Regions from separate parts of the Homo sapiens genome. Here all the other regions are linked to region 2. Evidence: promoter capture Hi-C in 16 types of primary human blood cells and fetal thymus (Javierre and others, 2016). All regions are on one chromosome and are shown on one strand. The core of a region is centred on a gene start or on the middle of the fragment in contact, and the rest is flanking DNA. Distances in the headings are between cores, read along the strand shown. Region 1 overlaps LOC105377308 (a long non-coding RNA gene). Region 2 holds the start of THAP9 (THAP domain containing 9). Region 3 overlaps HNRNPD (heterogeneous nuclear ribonucleoprotein D). Region 4 overlaps HELQ (helicase, POLQ like).

Region 1 (4,767 bases), core at 35-2,534, 620 kb after region 2:
AATCTAGAGCATGTGAAATGTAGACCTTGATTTTAAAGAAAATTAATTCATTAATCCAGGCATTTATTGAACTCCGGCTGTGCGCTAAATGCCTTAGATTCCTGGGTATGCAAGTAGGTCGGCCCCGACCTTGAAGTTGAGGAGTTCATATTCTAGTAGTGGTTACAGAGGCACAGGCGGAGAAACGCCAGTCTCAAGTGGTATGCGTGTGCTATCAGGGAAAGATGAACAAAGCTGCAGAAGATGGGATGGAGAGCTAGCAAAGCTTTAAAAGTCCTTGACTTAGAGGATGGGTTGGCGTTCTCTAAGTGGGGAGGAAAGAAAGATAGGAGAGTCTAGGCAGAGGGAATAGCTTCTGTAAAGGCTTGAAAGAAGGCAGGTGGGTTTGGGGGATGAGTGTGGCAGAGAAAAGGTGTATGAGAGAGTAGGTAGGAGGGCAGAGTGGAAGGAGTGGTAGCATGACTTTTGTTGTCTTAGACCTTGGGTGCCTTGACAATAATTTTTTAAAAGTGTGACCTTATATATTTTCATCACCAAGGTATTGTGGTAGAGTGGAAAGAGTTTGCCTTTGAAGTCAGACAAACTTAGATTCATATATGGGCATTGCCCATGTACTCCATGAGTTTATGTAACTTAATCTTTCTGAGAGTCAGTTTCCTAGTTCATAAAATGGGGGTAATTGTCAAGTTTAAATGAAATAATTATGCAAAAATATTAGCATACAGTAGTTATGCAATTGCAGTAATTTGTGATAAGTACATATTACTTTCTTGCTCCCAATGGTGTAATCTTTTTTTTTTTTTGAGACAGGGTCTAGAGTGCAGTGGCATGATCACGGCTCACTGCAACCTCCACCTTCTGGGTTGAAACGATCCTTCCACCTCAGCCTCCTGAGTAGCTGGGACCACAGGTGTGTGCCACCACGCCTGACTAATTTTTGTATTTTTAGTAGAGACGGGGTTTCACCATGTTGGCCAAACTGGTCTTGAACTCTTGACCTCAAGTGGTCCACTCTCCTTGGTCTCCTAAAGTGCTGGGATTACAGGTGTGTCACTGCGCCTGAACCCAATGGTGTAACCTTAAAGAATGACAATCAGTATCCTTCTGGGTGTCTGGGTGAAGGCAGGTAGTCAATTCCATTTCCTTTAACACAGGGTAATCAAATTGGATTTGACAAGGAAGGAGCGAAACTGGTCTGCACTATAGCTCCTGAGAAAAATGCCTTGTTGAATCATGTATCCTATATACAGGAAATCTCGAATCAGTGTGTCTTATCAGCTTGATAAGTGTGTCTGTGTTACAGGCAGGGTGACTGATTAAAACCACTGGTCACATTACTTATACCTGGGAAGAGGAAATTTGTTAACTCTGGGGTAATGCTTTTGCTTACCCCAGGGTCTTGCTTACAGTAAAAACAAACCGAATAAACCTCACCACAAATCTATCTTTTTTGAGCCCCTTCTCCCTGGTGAGCTTTCAGCACAGCAGTCATTCTAAGCCTTTAATCCTCCCCTCCAATTGCATACTGTCCCTTGTGCTTTCTTTCCTTCCTGTATGTTTTCTGTATGCTGTATTATGCCTGATAGCCAAGGCTTACTCTAGTCAATGCCAGGTTTCCTCACTTAACTCAGGATTTCTCCCTTTCCTTCTTTCCCCATGGGGTGGCATCTCTGAGTGTGGGAAACTTGGTGGAGGGAAAGAGCTTCCAATTAGTGACCTTCGTCCCTCTAAGGTGGAATCTGCAGCTAATGTTTGTTTTCTGTCTGTCTCTGATCACCAGTCACACACTCTACTTGGAACCCCAAGGCCCCTTTAGGTGCTCTGTTTCTCTTTCAGTCACTTTTTTGGTCCTCTTGGAGGCGAAGAAAAATTCCCACTGCTCCCACATGTCATTGTGAGGCTGCGGGTGGCTCCAGAGGCTGTGTCACAATATGCCCTCCTGTCGCACTCTCCTGTTGTGCTGTGTCACTGCTATCATGTGGGGAGCAGCTTTTAGACCTTACTTCATTTGGGAAGCAAGCTCTTGGATCCCCAATTTACTAGGAGTCTTCTCATCACCACACTATGTCACCCCTCACTTCCTAGAGAGGGCTCTAGCTAGTTGGAGTGCTTCCTTCTCATTCTGTCCTTCTCTGACATGTGGACATTCCAGCAAGTCTAGGTAGGGCAACTCTGACCACCCTGGGCGTTTTCCCAGTTGATGCCATGAACGTTGATTGTCTGAAACCTTTTTTTCCCCATATACTCTGTTTTCAGAGAGTTCCCAAAATCTATTTTGAAACTTTTTAGAATGAGAAGCTTTTCTGTCTTACTCTCTTCTTCCTCCATCTCTCCTTCCTCCTCCTCCATTTTTTTCATTCTCCATTTTTGTGCCAAAGAGAATAACTGAGAATGAAAACCACGGCAGGTAATATAAAATATCACAGACATTTCCACCTTTCCCTTGATAGTTTGATACAATCTTGAGGATGCAGCAGAAAGAGTGGTGAGAAGCTAGGATCCTGGGAAGGTGAAATGGGACATTTCACTGTTGTTAATTTCTTTCACAACATGCTTTTAGACTCATCAGTACTTTGACTGGTGAATACTACTATCATTGCTTTTTATTTTATTTATTTTTGAGACAGAGTCTTACTCCGTTGCCCAGGCTTGAGTGCAGTAGCACGATCTCGACTCACTGCAACCTCTGCCTCCTGGGTTAAAGTGATTCTCCTGCCTCAGCCTCCTGAATAGCTGAGATTACAAGTGTGCACCACCACACCTGGCTAATTTTGTATTTTTAGTAGAGACAGGGTTTCATCATGTTGGTCAGTCTGGTCTCGAACCCCTGACCTTAAGTGATCCGACCCCCTCAGCCTCCCGAAGTGCTGGGATTACCTGCGTGAGCCACTATGCCTGAATTATCATTGCTTTTTAGAGGTTAGCTTCCCAGAAGGAAGAGCAACTAATTTTTTAGTCATCTGACTTCTTAGGTCATTAGAGAGTTTGTAAGTGTTTTTGTCAGCTGGAGACTTTCAAGCACTCACTAATTCAAGATGAGTCTTATTAAGTATTGAAGTTCTCTCATAAAGGACTGTTTTTTTAGTTATTGTTCTTCAAAATGGAACATTTTTATAATTTTTTTATTTACGTATGTGATCACTGTAAAAATTTAGGCTGGGCACAGTGGCTGAAGCCTGTAATCCCAGCAGTTTGGGAGGCCCAGGTGGGAGAACCACCTTAGCCCAGGAGTTCAAGACCAGCCTGGACAACATGGTGAAACCCCGTCTCTACAAAAAATAGAAAAATTAGCTGGACGTGATGGTGCGCACCTGTGGTCCCGGCTACTTGGGAGGCTGAACTGGGAAAATTGTTTGAGGCTGAGAAGTCAAGGCTGCAGTGAGTCATGATCGCACTGCTGCACTCCAGCCTAGGCAATAGAGTGAGACCTTGTCTAAAAAAAAAAAAAAAAGTAAACAATACTAGAGTAAAAGCCTGTCTATTTTTACCATCCCATAAAAGAACCACTGGAATAATCTAATTTATATTTGTCTTTTCATTTTTGTGCATTTTATATACATTTTTCTGAAAATTTTTTTTTTTTTAGACCGAGTCTTACTCTGTTTTCCAGGCTAGACTGCAGTGGTGGGATCATAGCTGACTGCAGCCTCGAACTCTTGGTCTCAAGTGATCTTCCTGCCTTCGCCTCCTGAGTAGCTGGGAGTACAGACAAGTGCCGCCATGCTCTGCTAATTTTGTTCTTTTTATTTTTAGGCAGGGTCTCACTGGTCACCTAGGCTGGAGTGCAGTGGCACAATCTTGGCTCACTGCAGCCTTGACTTCTCAGAATCAAGCTGTCATCCTACCTCAGTCTCCTGAGCAGCTGGGAATACAGGCACATGCTACCATGCCTGGCTAATTTTTGTACTTTTTGTAGAGACTGGGTTTCACCATGTGGCCCAGGCTGGTCTTGAACTCCTGGACTCAAGAGATTCATCTGCCTTGGCCTCCCAGAGTGCTGGGATTACAGGCGTGAGTCACCATGCCCAGCCTGTTCTTTCTTTTCTTTTCCTTTTTTTTTTTTTTGAGATGGAGTCTCCCTCTTGCTGCCCAGGCTGGAATGCAGTGGCGTGGTCTCGGCACACTGCAACCTCCATCTCCTGGGTTCCAGAGATTCTCCTCCTCAGCCACCCAAGCAGCTGGGATTACAGGTGTGTGCCACCACGCCTGGCTAATTTTTATATTTTTGGTAGAGACGGGATTTCACCATGTTTGCCAGGCTGGTCTCGAACTCCTGACCTCAGGTGATCTGCCTGCCTTGGCGTCCTAAAGTGCTAGGATTACAGGCGTGAGCCACCGTGCCTGGCCTGTTTTTTAAATTAACAATGTTTTCTTTGACTATCATATATATATCTCAGATGTTTCTTTTGAGGTTTATTATTTGATTTTTCTTTTTCTTTATGGTGTCTATTTTTTTATTTAGACATTTTTGTTGGACCTTAGTGTCATACTAGGCAAGGCCTCTTTTTCTATCCCCATCCCCAAATGTAAATGTTTTCTTATTTTTTTCTGTTACTTTTATATGTTTGTTTTAATGTTTAAATCTTTAATCCACCTGGAATTTGTTTTTGTGCCCTTTATGAGGTTGGAATTTGCATCTTCCCAAATGGACAGCCAACTATTCTATTTTTTTAATTATACTTTAAGTTCTGGGGTACATGTGCAGAATGTGCAGTTTTGTAACATAGGTATACACGTGCCATGGTGGTTTGCTGCACCCATCAACCC
Region 2 (4,119 bases), core at 1-2,500:
AAAGTCTTACGTTTTAGTTTTACAAAATTCTACAAGGCAGGTTTTTATTCCTCTTACAGAAGAAGAAACCAAGACCCAGAGCCAAGTACAGACATCAGTAAATACTCAATTAAAATTGGAATTCATGTCTCCCTAGTTTAAAACTACCTCTATCACAAGAAAAATCCCAAATCAATTATGGTCTCACATACACAATGAGTTGGTTCACACTGCTAACAATTTAGGTGGAGGAATCAGCCCTATTTAAAAAATAGAAAACAAAAAAAAAAAAAAATCAATGAATTTTATACATAGCCTACCATACATACTCTAAACTCCTTAACCTGGCATTTACATTTTTAAAATGGTTTCTCAGGTACTTTTCCACTCCTCTATATTTGCACTTTCTATCCTTTACATTTTCCCATGCCATTCCTAACTACCCTCTTCCTACCCCCCCTTTCCAACCATAAAGTTCTTTTTGATCTTTCCATAAATCTGCTCCTTTTGTCTGTGAGGATCTATTTTACCCACTTTTCTACTTGCTAGTGTACCCTGAATACTGAATGACCTATACCAGTCTGAACCATGGATATGAGTTCAGATAAGACTGATCTGAAATTCTTCCCCACTGTCGAGCCAAATGAAACTTCCCTGCCATGATCAAATCCAGCCAGAATCGGACCGGCCTTGCACAGCTCGGCTAACAGCACTTAAGAACTTGCAATGTCAGGCAGTACAGGAGAAAACTGATCTGTACTCGTGCTCAGGAAGACGCCACACACACACTTCAACCGTTGTCCTAAACTGCCTTCCCTTTCGGCCTCCTCACTTCAAATAATAAGACCATCCAATTAATGGAGGACTCCTTTCGCGTAACTCTCCTTAAAGCGGTAGGCGGTGCGAGAACCGGCTATTCAGAGGTAAACACTGGGCGGGAAGAGAGAGAATCTCAATTCTCACAGTGCCCCAATTCCGCTCCCACGCCCCGACGCTGCGCACGTCACGTCGCGTCACACACGCGGCGCGACCCACAGTGCGGCCCGGCCCCGCCCCACGCCACGCCACGGCCCGCCGGGCCCCGCAGGGAGTTCGAAGGCTTCGAGGCTGCTCCCATACGCACTGGTGGAAGGAGAGGCCGCGCTCCCGGCTGAGCACGGTGTCACGGGTGCTGCAGCCCACTGCGGAGCAACTTCGGGTCATCTTCTTGTTACGTGGGGCCCCACCTTCGGGGTTCCCGCGACAGCATGAATCACGACCACTTTAGCTCCGCCCGTTGACTCTGCGGCTACGACCTTTATTTGTCACGAAAGGCGGGCTTTAGAGGCGCGGGACTTCCACACTTCCTCTCCGAAGGCCCTGCGCCGGTGCCGTAGCCAATGACAGGCCACGTTGTGTCCCAGCAGCCAATCGGAAGGGCCTGAGCCTGAAGACGTGCATTTGACCGCTCCTCCCTCCGCGTTGGAGGCGGAATAGTGGGTTTTGCTGCAACCGGTTTATTTTCCTTCTGTTTTCACCCATTCTGGCACAATCTGGCGCCATCGTCCTTCTTGTGAGGCCAAGCCTGAAAATGCGAAGCAGAGAGGCAGGACCAAAATTGAGGCGAATCCAGGAACCTGCCAATGGGTCTCCGGGTGCGGTCTCTGAAACTGGAGGATATCGGGAGGAAAGGGTATGGAAGAGGGATAAAACACGGTGCCTTAGGTGTGTTGAAGACAGAGTCGGGCCAAAAATATATGATTTACTGAGATGCGTGTCGTGTTCTTGCGCTTTATCTTGTAGCTCTCCGATGCGGAGATAATGGGGAAGCTCTTGGCATGGTTGGCTGTAGGTATGTGATACCGGAGGAGCAGGAGTCAAATAGGATACGCCGACTTTTAATTCAAGGAACCCTTTTCTGAAACACTTTGCCACAATGAAGGAAATAAGGTAAGGTTCTTGGGGCTCCTCAGTAGTAATAGGGGCAGGGGACAAGGGGCAATTAAGTGGTTTTGGTTGGGAATGAGGCATTATGAATAGCTTTCAGGAGATAGAGCTTAGAACAATGTCTTAGTTATAAGCTCTTATGTTTGAGGAAGAGATTTCAATTTGCTTAGAGAAGGAAACGGGCCAGTGGGTTTTTGTCTCTGAGAAGGAGATCCTTAGCATACAGAAAACAGAGAAGGGTTTGCAACTTTTCCGTTTCTTTGTATAGCACACAAAAATAATTCCAAATATCCAGGCCTAACAAGATTGCTTCTTTTTCCCCTTTGTGTTTACTTTGTCCAGATTACAGCCGAAGATACATATTAAGGTATTACTTATTCACACCAGTTTTCCATTATAATATGCTTGTATCTTCTCTGAATGGAATTAATAGCTTTTGGTTATGGTTCCTTAAAAGTCACATGGCCTAAGGATAGATGGTCAAGGAACTTTGGAAAAATTGGTCCCTGGGGGATGTGCAGGGCAAATACTTTTTGGCTGTAAGGTGTGTGCAGAGAGTAAGAACTGGATTTAAATACTGTAAGTTGGTTGGGCTGTTAGAGCCTTTTCCTGCTCAACCAATTAAGACCCGAGTGAGGCTGAATAAAAATAACATTGTTTTTAGCTATCTTTAAGGAAAAAATTAGTTGCCTTATATTTTTGTAACAGTTTTACTCAGATATAATTCTCATACCACACAACTAATTGGTTTAAAGTGTACAATTCAGTGGGTTTTAGTATATGCACAGAATTGTGGAACAGTCACAATCAATATTAGAACATTTTCATCACTCCAGAAAGAAACCTCATTCTTACTAGCAGCACCTCCAAATATTCCCCCACCCCGCTCAGCAAACACTAATTTAGTTTCCGTGTGCCTCTGCCTGCTCTGTACACTTCATGTAAGTGGAATTATGAACTAATATATGGTCTTTGTGACTGGCTTCTTTCACTTGGAATGTTTTCAGAGTTCATCCATCTTATAGCACGTATCAGTACTTTATTTTTTATTGCTGAATCGTACTCCATTTTATGGATGTAGCAGATTTTGTTTATCCGTTCAACAGTTGGTGGACATTTGGGTTTTCCAATTTTTTTTTTTACTATTATGAACATTTGTGTACAAGTTTTTGTGTGGACAAATGTTTTCATTTTCCTGATTACACACCTAAGAGTGGAATTGGTGAGTCATAAGATAACTGTGTTTAGCTTCTTGAGGAAGTGCCAGATTATTTTCCCTAGTGGCTGCACCATTTTACATTCCCACCAGCAGTGGATGAGGCTGCCAGTTTCTCCACATTTTTGTGCATGTGAAGTGGCTGTCTCATCGTGGTGTTTGCCTTTTCTTAAGGACTCAAAAGTTTGCAGATACAGGCATTCACTTGCCATTTTCTTAAGGTAGAGTTGAAAGTACTGCTGCCAGTTCATCATCTGAAATGAGGGCTGTTTTCTTTCCTGTTTAATTGGATTGCAACTATTTGCCTTTCCTAAAGATGAAATAGTGTGCTTCCTACATTATTCTGACAACATTCCTTTAATTGTTAATTTCAGATGAATTTCTGAAAACTGCTTTTATCAGAACAGATTTACTTAAATGAAGGCAATAGCCGCAAGGGGTCACTGCTCTAGATATTTACTTCTGCATAGGAAATAAGTAATCCTTTATAGATGGAATTTTTTTTTCTTAGTTGTATTTTTGTATCTTTACATTTGTTTATAACTTATCTATACTTTTTTTGTTGTTGTGATTATTTTACTGTTGACATGGAAGTTCTCAATCTGATCATTTGGTTATATCATTGCTTCTTCTAGTAACTTCATATCCAGTGATTAAACCTTTTCACTGCTGTTCACATAATGAACCGTTGTGATTATTGAATACTTAAATGAGGATATGTAAGCTGTATTAAAGATAGTGTTATTTGCAAAGGCATTGACTATTGCACAAAAAATTTTAAAAGAAAATATCTCTTTTCAGGAATTGTACTCTCAGAGATGTTGAGAAAAGATACATGGGTCTTGGAAGATAATTACTCAAAATATGCAGGGAAGGTAGTATATCTTTCTATTTTAAATGTATTAAGTATTCCTGGAACTATAGCAGTGAGTTGGAAATGGAGGATTGTCCAAGTAAAAAACATTTATTAAGGCTTTAATGAAATCTACCTATTTTAT
Region 3 (4,312 bases), core at 512-3,011, 540 kb after region 2:
AATTTGTGACCCTTGAGTTAGGTAGTAAATGTCAGTGCGTGGTAAAGCTTATTTTTGTAAATAGTTGTGAAGACCTTAGATGGAATGGGTGTTCTAATTTGAAGAATTCCTTAAAAGGATTAGAATAAATAGGGAGAAACAGGAGACTAGAACTTCAGTGCCAAATACATGTTTTCTTTGTGTGTTTTCCCCCCTCTAAACTTGTGTTTCTTTTAAGGTCAATAAAATGCATGTTAGCATATTAAAATTTGTTTTTTAATACCAGGTGGAATCCATAGAGCTCCCCATGGACAACAAGACCAATAAGAGGCGTGGGTTCTGCTTTATTACCTTTAAGGAAGAAGAACCAGTGAAGAAGATAATGGAAAAGAAATACCACAATGTTGGTCTTAGTAAAGTAAGTTAAGCATCCATTTACTTGTAGAGAAAACTAGCTGTTGTAAAGAGCTTAACCATTTATCTTTCTCTGTAAAGGCTTAAGTTCTTTGCATGCTTTAAAAACTTCTCATTGGTTACTTACCATTGACCAACTTTTTGTGGGGAGCAGGATGGACACATTTGTTAGTGTTTTTGTCTAGGCTTTCACAAAAATAGTTTTTAGAACTTGACAAGTAAAATGAAGTAACATCACTAGCAAGTACTCATAAGTGATTACTCTTAAGTACTAAATATTGGTTTAATTAATAAACTGACTGAGGAAAGTTTCAAATTAGCCTACTCTATTTAAACATGTTGGCTATTCTGGTTATTAGAAACTTATTTAGCAACTTTTATTTTCTTGAGTCAGTTTAATAATGTAATTTTTCTCTTTTAGTGTGAAATAAAAGTAGCCATGTCGAAGGAACAATATCAGCAACAGCAACAGTGGGGATCTAGAGGAGGATTTGCAGGAAGAGCTCGTGGAAGAGGTGGTGGTAAGCTAGAGCCTAAGTTTACTCTATCTTAAGCTTTTCTGCTTTTTAATTATCCTGAAGTAAAGATCTTTGCTGATCTTCTGACTTTAGTGAACCTATTAATGTGCTGCAGGCCCCAGTCAAAACTGGAACCAGGGATATAGTAACTATTGGAATCAAGGCTATGGCAACTATGGATATAACAGCCAAGGTTACGGTGGTTATGGAGGATATGACTACACTGGTTACAACAACTACTATGGATATGGTGATTATAGCAGTAAGTACTATACTTTTTATATTAACTGCTATTTGACATTTATTTTGTACAAATTTGGATAGGCAGAAAGGTTAGTGTAGCCTTGCCAAGTGCAAATGTCTTCAGGTTTCAAATTCCTGGAAACTTGAAACTGCAGCCATTTTATTGCTTGGTTCCTCCCAGCCTATATCACACACACATTATAAGGGTAGGGTGTATGTGTGGTTCTATATATGTTTGCTGGGCATTTGTTTTACTTGGATTTAAAAATTTTAAGCTCAGTTCAGATCTTTTAAGCTCAAGGTATTCTAAATGTCACTTCTTGGACCAACCAATAATCTTGGCATGATGTGTCTTAATCCTATAAAACTGAATAATACCACATGTTGCCAGTTAAAACTAATAGTATCCTCGCTTTAGGATTATTAATGTAGAAACTCTTAAAACAGATGTTGAGCTTGATAGAACCAAAAAACTTGACTTTTAGACATGGAAAGCCCTGACTTCATTGTGCAACTAAGGTAGTTGCTCTCCACCTGATTTGTAGCAACTGTTGAGTCGTCAGGTAAAGGGTTCTACTAGAAGCAATCTTACATTTTTTTGGAGGAGAGTGGTTGCATTGGTTGCATTGTTTTAAGTGGTTTTTCTTTTCCTTCCTTGGTTAGACCAGTTCTTGGAGTTATATCCTTTCTTAGGTGACTAGGCCTGCTGCACAATAATAGGTTAATTAAAGTCAGAAGAAGGTCAGCAAAGATGGATTGGGTGAGATTGGGGCCCTTTTCTTAGAAGGGCAGAGATACTAAGCACTGATTGTGGTTGACAATTTGTTCTAAATTTTAAGATATTTTTTGCTGGTGGTTGTGAAAGGGTCAGCTGTCCATCCTTTGAAACTTAAAACTTTTAAACTGTAAGGGTGAGGGGATTGTCTCCCATTTTATACAATAAGTCAAGTAATCAGCTCATTCTGAATGCCTGCCATTGTATGCATTCACTACATATTTGGTAAATTATTTGATAAATGATTGCTCAGGGTGAATTTTTCACACTTGGGAATTAAGCTACCCTTAATTTTTTGAGATTGTTTAAAATTAGGTACTGTTCTGATTATTAGTATGTAACCACTACCGTTCTGGTTCTAACACTTGTTTTATTTTAGACCAGCAGAGTGGTTATGGGAAGGTATCCAGGCGAGGTGGTCATCAAAATAGCTACAAACCATACTAAATTATTCCATTTGCAACTTATCCCCAACAGGTATGTTCTAAAAATAGTTTTTTTTTGTCATTTACAATAGTAGTTTTTATAATCTATATTGTTCATAAAACAATGCTTAATTTAAGAGTTTCACAGCACCCAGAAGTGCTTACCATATTATAACATAGTGACTTTCAAAGATATGTAACACAGGTGCTCTTAAGCTTTTGCCTTTTTGTCCTATTATTAACAAGTCAGTAAAGTTAACAGGTAAAGTACTGCTAATGGGTACAAATTAAGGAATTGCAGCAAAAAAGTATTGCCTACTAACTCTGACATTATACCTTGTTTGTACCCGCCAGCGGGAACTTCATTGCAGGCCCTGTGTCGCGCTGACTTCACGATTCTCACAGGCCCGCTCAATGCGGACAGGGTACGAGATGCTCACGCTCTCGAATGCTGCCGTTTGGTATGGTCTCTTCCAACATCCTGTATCAGCATTATAAAATAAAATGGATACTTCAAGCTTTGCCTTCACTTATTTCTTTGCTTTTTAAAAACTATTTGTAATGTAATTTTAATGCATTTTTTACAGGCCCAGTAATGGTTAAATACGTCAGCTTACTGAATAATTTTAACTATTTATTCTTCTAAGGATACAGCTTGTCTCTGGATTTTCCAGTCTTAATTTTATATTTTATTAATCTATTTTAATGCTTGCTTTTCCCATTTATAGACGTTGTAGCAGTAATTGCAAGAAGTTCTTGAGCTGAATTCCTGTTGTGACAACTTCCTATAATTACAGTAGATAACTTTTTCTTTTAGTCGTATATAACTTTTCTATAACTTGTGATGGACAAGAGATATGCTTATCCAATAAAATAAGCTTAAATATTAGATGCTCTTGGGTCAAAATGTCCTTTTACCAAATTGACCTTTTTATGAGTTCTTTGGGTAAATACTTTAAAGCTTTTTATATTTTAAAGAATACTTGTAAAAGCATATCACATCTTAAACCAGTGGTGCACATGTGGATTTACAGCTCATGGACTCTACTGTTCAGCTTTAATTTATAAAACATATCACACATTTAATGTTATACAGTATTTACATATAGTGGAACATAGGGATAACTCAGTTTTATGTAAATTTTTGTTAAGTGTTGTAGCCTGCCCAGAGTGACTTCTATTTTTTCTTCTTTGTCTCCAGGTGGTGAAGCAGTATTTTCCAATTTGAAGATTCATTTGAAGGTGGCTCCTGCCACCTGCTAATAGCAGTTCAAACTAAATTTTTTGTATCAAGTCCCTGAATGGAAGTATGACGTTGGGTCCCTCTGAAGTTTAATTCTGAGTTCTCATTAAAAGAAATTTGCTTTCATTGTTTTATTTCTTAATTGCTATGCTTCAGAATCAATTTGTGTTTTATGCCCTTTCCCCCAGTATTGTAGAGCAAGTCTTGTGTTAAAAGCCCAGTGTGACAGTGTCATGATGTAGTAGTGTCTTACTGGTTTTTTAATAAATCCTTTTGTATAAAAATGTATTGGCTCTTTTATCATCAGAATAGGAAAAATTGTCATGGATTCAAGTTATTAAAAGCATAAGTTTGGAAGACAGGCTTGCCGAAATTGAGGACATGATTAAAATTGCAGTGAAGTTTGAAATGTTTTTAGCAAAATCTAATTTTTGCCATAATGTGTCCTCCCTGTCCAAATTGGGAATGACTTAATGTCAATTTGTTTGTTGGTTGTTTTAATAATACTTCCTTATGTAGCCATTAAGATTTATATGAATATTTTCCCAAATGCCCAGTTTTTGCTTAATATGTATTGTGCTTTTTAGAACAAATCTGGATAAATGTGCAAAAGTACCCCTTTGCACAGATAGTTAATGTTTTATGCTTCCATTAAATAAAAAGGACTTAAAATCTGTTAATTATAATAGAAATGCGGCTAGTTCAGAGAGATTTT
Region 4 (4,094 bases), core at 768-3,267, 540 kb before region 2:
CCATAGCCTCCCAAAGTGCTGGAATTACAGGCGTGAGCCACTGCGCCTGGCCTGCCTTTGTTTTCTTAGTAAACTTCACACTTAGTTGTATGGACATTTGGATATAATTTCCTGAGTAAGAAATGTGTTGTCTTATAATTTTGTAGTATCTTAATATTGGCTCTGTCGTATTCATAGAGATAAGTATGAAGTTACTTTAACTACTAACAGTTCAGTTTTTTATACACCTGTTTGTCCCATGTGTGGTTTTATCATTTTCTGAGATTTCTTTCAGCCCCTTAGCTAATGCTGTATCACTATTCATAGTCTATTAACCTGAATGCTAATCTAGTCAACCTCTACCTCCTCTTTCAATCCTACTATCATGGATTGGTCTAAGATAGACTTAAATTTATTGAATAGCAAAATATAAAAATGTTTGGAATAAGATGAAGGAGTTGCTCATTTTGGTAACAGTCTGCTTTTACAATGATTTTGATTATAAAAGCTTAAGGAAATTAAATTATCATTAAAAAAATTCTCAGTAAATCATTCATTTTCTTAGAGTAATTCAAGGTAATAAGATGGAGACACTGGCTAAGTGATGGAAACATTGTAGGATGTGAAGTTTCTAAAGTGCAAGTGTTTAGGCAGTGTTTTACCATGGAAGTATGATTTAATAATATGTATGTTTCCATCTTCAGAAAAGAAAATTTATGTCTTTAAAAAAACTATCCCCTATAAAGATATATGTTATAAAGAAAAAAACAGTTATAACATCCAGAGCAAAGGTCTAAACCTGGTGTCCATGGATTCAAAGGAAGTACAGGAATGAATTTTAGGAAATCCACGAACCCTCTGAAATTATATGTAAAGTGTTGTATTTATGTAAATAGTTATATTTTTCCTTTTTTTTTTTTTTTTTTTTAGACAAGGCTTTGCTCTTTCACCCAGGCTGGTAGGTTCATAGCTCATTGCAACCTCAAACTCCCGGGTTCAAGCAATCATCCCACCTCATCCTCCCCCATAGCCTGGAACTGCAGGTGCATGCACCACCATGCCCGGCTAATTTTTGTTATTTTTTGTAGAGGTGGTCTTGCTTCACTGCCCAAGCTGATCTTGAACTCTTGGGCTCAAGCAATCCTTCTGCCTCTACCTCCCAAAGTGCTGAGATTACAGGCATGAGCCATCGCATTTCGCCTTTCCTTAGTTTTGATAAGATTTTCACAGGGTTCTGTAATCCACAAAAAGATTGAGAGACTGCCTAATAGTTAATGAAGTCAGAATCAAAATTCTAAGAACATTTAATGTACTTAACTCAATGGAAATAGTACATTAAAGAATGTTTACATTAGCATCTACTAAAATGAAAATGGTAGAAATTTTGTCACTAAAAGATCAAGGGCTCATATTTCTAACAGATCTTTTTCATAGGGAATATCTGAAACATAAGGAGAAAGAAAAATGTGAGGTGATTAAGAACTTGAAGAATATTGGCAATGGCAACCTGTGTCCTGTTTTAAAGCGCACTATCCCATTTGGAGTTGCCTATCACCACAGTGGCTTAACAAGTGATGAAAGGAAACTCTTGGAGGAGGCCTACTCCACAGGAGTGCTCTGTCTTTTTACCTGCACATCTACCCTAGCGGCAGGTGTCAACCTACCAGCTCGAAGGTAAGAGATAAGTAAGTGTTGACCAGGCTCAGAACTTTTCCATTTCTAGCTTGCGAGGAGTTTTGTTGTTTTATGCTTTCTCAGTAGTGGATGAGAATTTATCAAATGTTCTTTTAGCATATGCTGAGTTGATTGGTTGGTTTATTTTCTTTAATATTTTAATGAATATGTAATGAAATATGTAATGAAAAATAACGTTAATAGATTTCTTGATATTAGAATTCCATCCTTTCTGCTCTTTATATCTGGTTTTGATGTTAGGGTCTATTAATCTGGTTTTGTAGAAATAGTTGGCAAGTGTTTTACCTTTTTTATGATATGAAAGAGTTTATTTAACATAGAGATTTCCTTGAAATCTTGGAGAGCTGATCCATAGGCAATTTGTGTCTAATATATGTATTTTAAAGCAGGCCCTTGATTACCTTTCCAGTTATTACCAAAGGTGTAGGCCTGTGTAATTGACTTCTCCCCTTTATAATTTATGATCATGGGGTATTTTGCTAATAAATGATCAATTTTTATAAACTTTCCATGAGTGTTTAAAAAAATATGTATTTTCAGTTGAATATGCAGTTTTGTACATCTCAGCGAGATCACAGAGGTTCATTGTGTTATCGGCTTCTCTATTTTCTTACTATATTTGATTCCTTGGTCTATCAATTTCAGAGAAGTGTGTTAGTCTCCCACTTTAATTATGTAGTTATCAGTTTCTCCTTTTTGCATCTCTAGAAGTTATTACTTTTTATATTTCAAAACTATTTAGATATACAAAGGTTTACTTCAAATATCTTATTGCCGAATTATACCTTTTATCAATACAATAAATACTTGTTTTTCTCATTTAATAATTTTGCTTTGAATACCAGGACTCATTTTTTTTTTTTGCCACGTATGTACCTTTTTCCATTCTTTTATTTTCAATTTCTGTCTCTCATTAAGTTTTCCATTTTTCAGACAATTGAAGAAAAAAATGAAAGTTATATATCCTGTTTCTATTATTCCAGTGGTTACTCTTAAAATTTTAAGTTGTAACCAAACATTTTTTATTACTTTAGAATTAATCAATAACTGTCCTCTCCTGAACATAAAAAGAGGCTTAGCATGTCCTTAGTATATTCTACTCTGCCCCATGAATGTTGCAATTACTTAGAATTTTAGTGCCAGATTTAAACATTTTCTTTCATCTTATGTAGTATTTAAACTTACCTGTAAATCATACTTCTTTTTTGCTTACCACTGCCTCTTATATCCCACATCTTTCTTCTCTGATTTTTTTTTTTTTAATTTTGCCTTCCTTGAGTAATCCTTTTTAGAATACCGCTTTAGGGGGTAAAACATTTTGACTCTTTGCATAGTTGAAGATATCTGTATTTTGGCCTCACACTTTTACACTTCACTAGCAAAAGAATTCTAGATTCAATTTTTTTCCTTTAGGGATTTTGTAAATATTGTTCCATATTTTCTAGAGGCCAATGTTGCTCATTTTTGTCTCTGCATGGATTTTCTGTTTTTCTTTTCCAGAAACTTTTAGACTTTTCTCTTTAACCTCCCAATTTTGTCATGGTGTATAATAATAGTTGTAATTACTACATTCCCCTCCCTTTCATGTAGTAACAACTTTACATGCATTGACTTGATACAGCTTCACAATAACTCTGTGAGGAAGGTCATATTTTATTACACACCTATTATAGAAGGGGAAACTGAGGCACTAAATAATTAAATAATTTTCCCAACTTTAAAAAGTTACATAACTTTTTCCCAACTCATTTTCCAACAAATGAGTTTTAAAGCCAGTGTTTGAACCCAGGAAGTTTGATTTTACAATCCCAACAGTACTACTTTTCATTCATAGGGCTTAGCACTTGGGTGGATGCTTTTAATCTAAGCTTTATGCCTTTCTTCTTTGAGTAATTTTTTTTCTGTTATTTCTTTTTCTTCCCATTATCTCTGTTCCTTGCTTTTATAATTTCACTTAGGCAGGGTTGAGGCCTCTTAGATTCAGCTTTCGTATCTCTTTTCTTACACATTTTTCAGAATGTGGAAGAATGTAAGCACACGTTTGTGCCATGTAATTTTTTTCAACTTTACCTTCCATATCAAAAAATCAGTTTTTTTGTAATCCCAGCACTTTGGGAGGCAAAGGTAGGAGGATTGCTTGAGCCCAGGAGTTTGAGACCAGTCTGGACAACATAGCAAGACCTCATCTCTACTAAAAAATTAAAAACTTAGCTGGGCATGGTGGCATACACTTGTGATCCCAGCTGCTCGAGAGGCTGAGGTGGGAAGATTGCTTGAGCCCAGGACATCGAGGCTGCAGTTAGCTATGATTGTACCACTGCACTCCAGCCTGGGCAACAGTGAGACCCTGTCTCAAAAAAAAAAATGAGTTTTTAACTGATATCCATTAACTACATTAACTGTATCCATTAACTATTTTC

What was found. Contacts are between HindIII fragments. The CHiCAGO score rates a contact against its expected background, and 5 or more counts as called.
Region 1: a contact is called between a fragment that was not itself captured here and the fragment with the promoter of THAP9 in region 2, in 1 of 17 cell types (fetal thymus). The highest score is 6.6, in fetal thymus.
Region 3: a contact is called between a fragment that was not itself captured here and the fragment with the promoter of THAP9 in region 2, in 1 of 17 cell types (total CD4 T cells). The highest score is 5.2, in total CD4 T cells.
Region 4: a contact is called between a fragment that was not itself captured here and the fragment with the promoter of THAP9 in region 2, in 5 of 17 cell types (naive CD4 T cells, total B cells, naive CD8 T cells and 2 more). The highest score is 10.0, in naive CD4 T cells.

What each region holds. Positions count from the first base shown.
Region 1 is chr4:82,279,999-82,284,765 of GRCh38, reverse strand. All of the region lies in intron 1 of LOC105377308 (a long non-coding RNA gene), which reads left to right. Among named protein-coding and RNA genes, the nearest start is that of HNRNPD, 92 kb to the left of the region's middle. The HindIII fragment of the contact is 2,033 bases long and covers 268-2,300 here.
Region 2 is chr4:82,897,866-82,901,984 of GRCh38, reverse strand. THAP9 (THAP domain containing 9) reads right to left here and starts at 1,250. Exons shown (of 5, transcript NM_024672.6): 1 at 1,103-1,250. The coding sequence starts at 1,182. THAP9-AS1 (THAP9 antisense RNA 1) reads left to right here and starts at 1,069. Exons shown (of 4, transcript NR_034077.1): 1 at 1,069-1,651; 2 at 1,762-1,908. It overlaps SNORD144 (small nucleolar RNA, C/D box 144), which reads left to right and starts at 3,760; the gene lies at 3,760-3,845. It also overlaps a transcript of SEC31A not described here. RefSeq lists a silencer at 891-1,240 and enhancers at 766-1,285, 1,551-1,670, 1,286-1,805. The HindIII fragment of the contact is 4,998 bases long and covers 1-4,119 here.
Region 3 is chr4:82,353,398-82,357,709 of GRCh38, reverse strand. It overlaps HNRNPD (heterogeneous nuclear ribonucleoprotein D), which reads left to right. Exons shown (of 9, transcript NM_031370.3): 5 at 266-397; 6 at 815-914; 7 at 1,027-1,173; 8 at 2,309-2,406; 9 at 3,556-4,312. The coding sequence ends at 2,376. Among named protein-coding and RNA genes, the nearest start is that of HNRNPD, 18 kb to the left of the region's middle. The HindIII fragment of the contact is 1,623 bases long and covers 950-2,572 here.
Region 4 is chr4:83,434,417-83,438,510 of GRCh38, reverse strand. It overlaps HELQ (helicase, POLQ like), which reads left to right. Exons shown (of 18, transcript NM_133636.5): 9 at 1,414-1,653. Among named protein-coding and RNA genes, the nearest start is that of HELQ, 19 kb to the left of the region's middle. The HindIII fragment of the contact is 3,055 bases long and covers 490-3,544 here.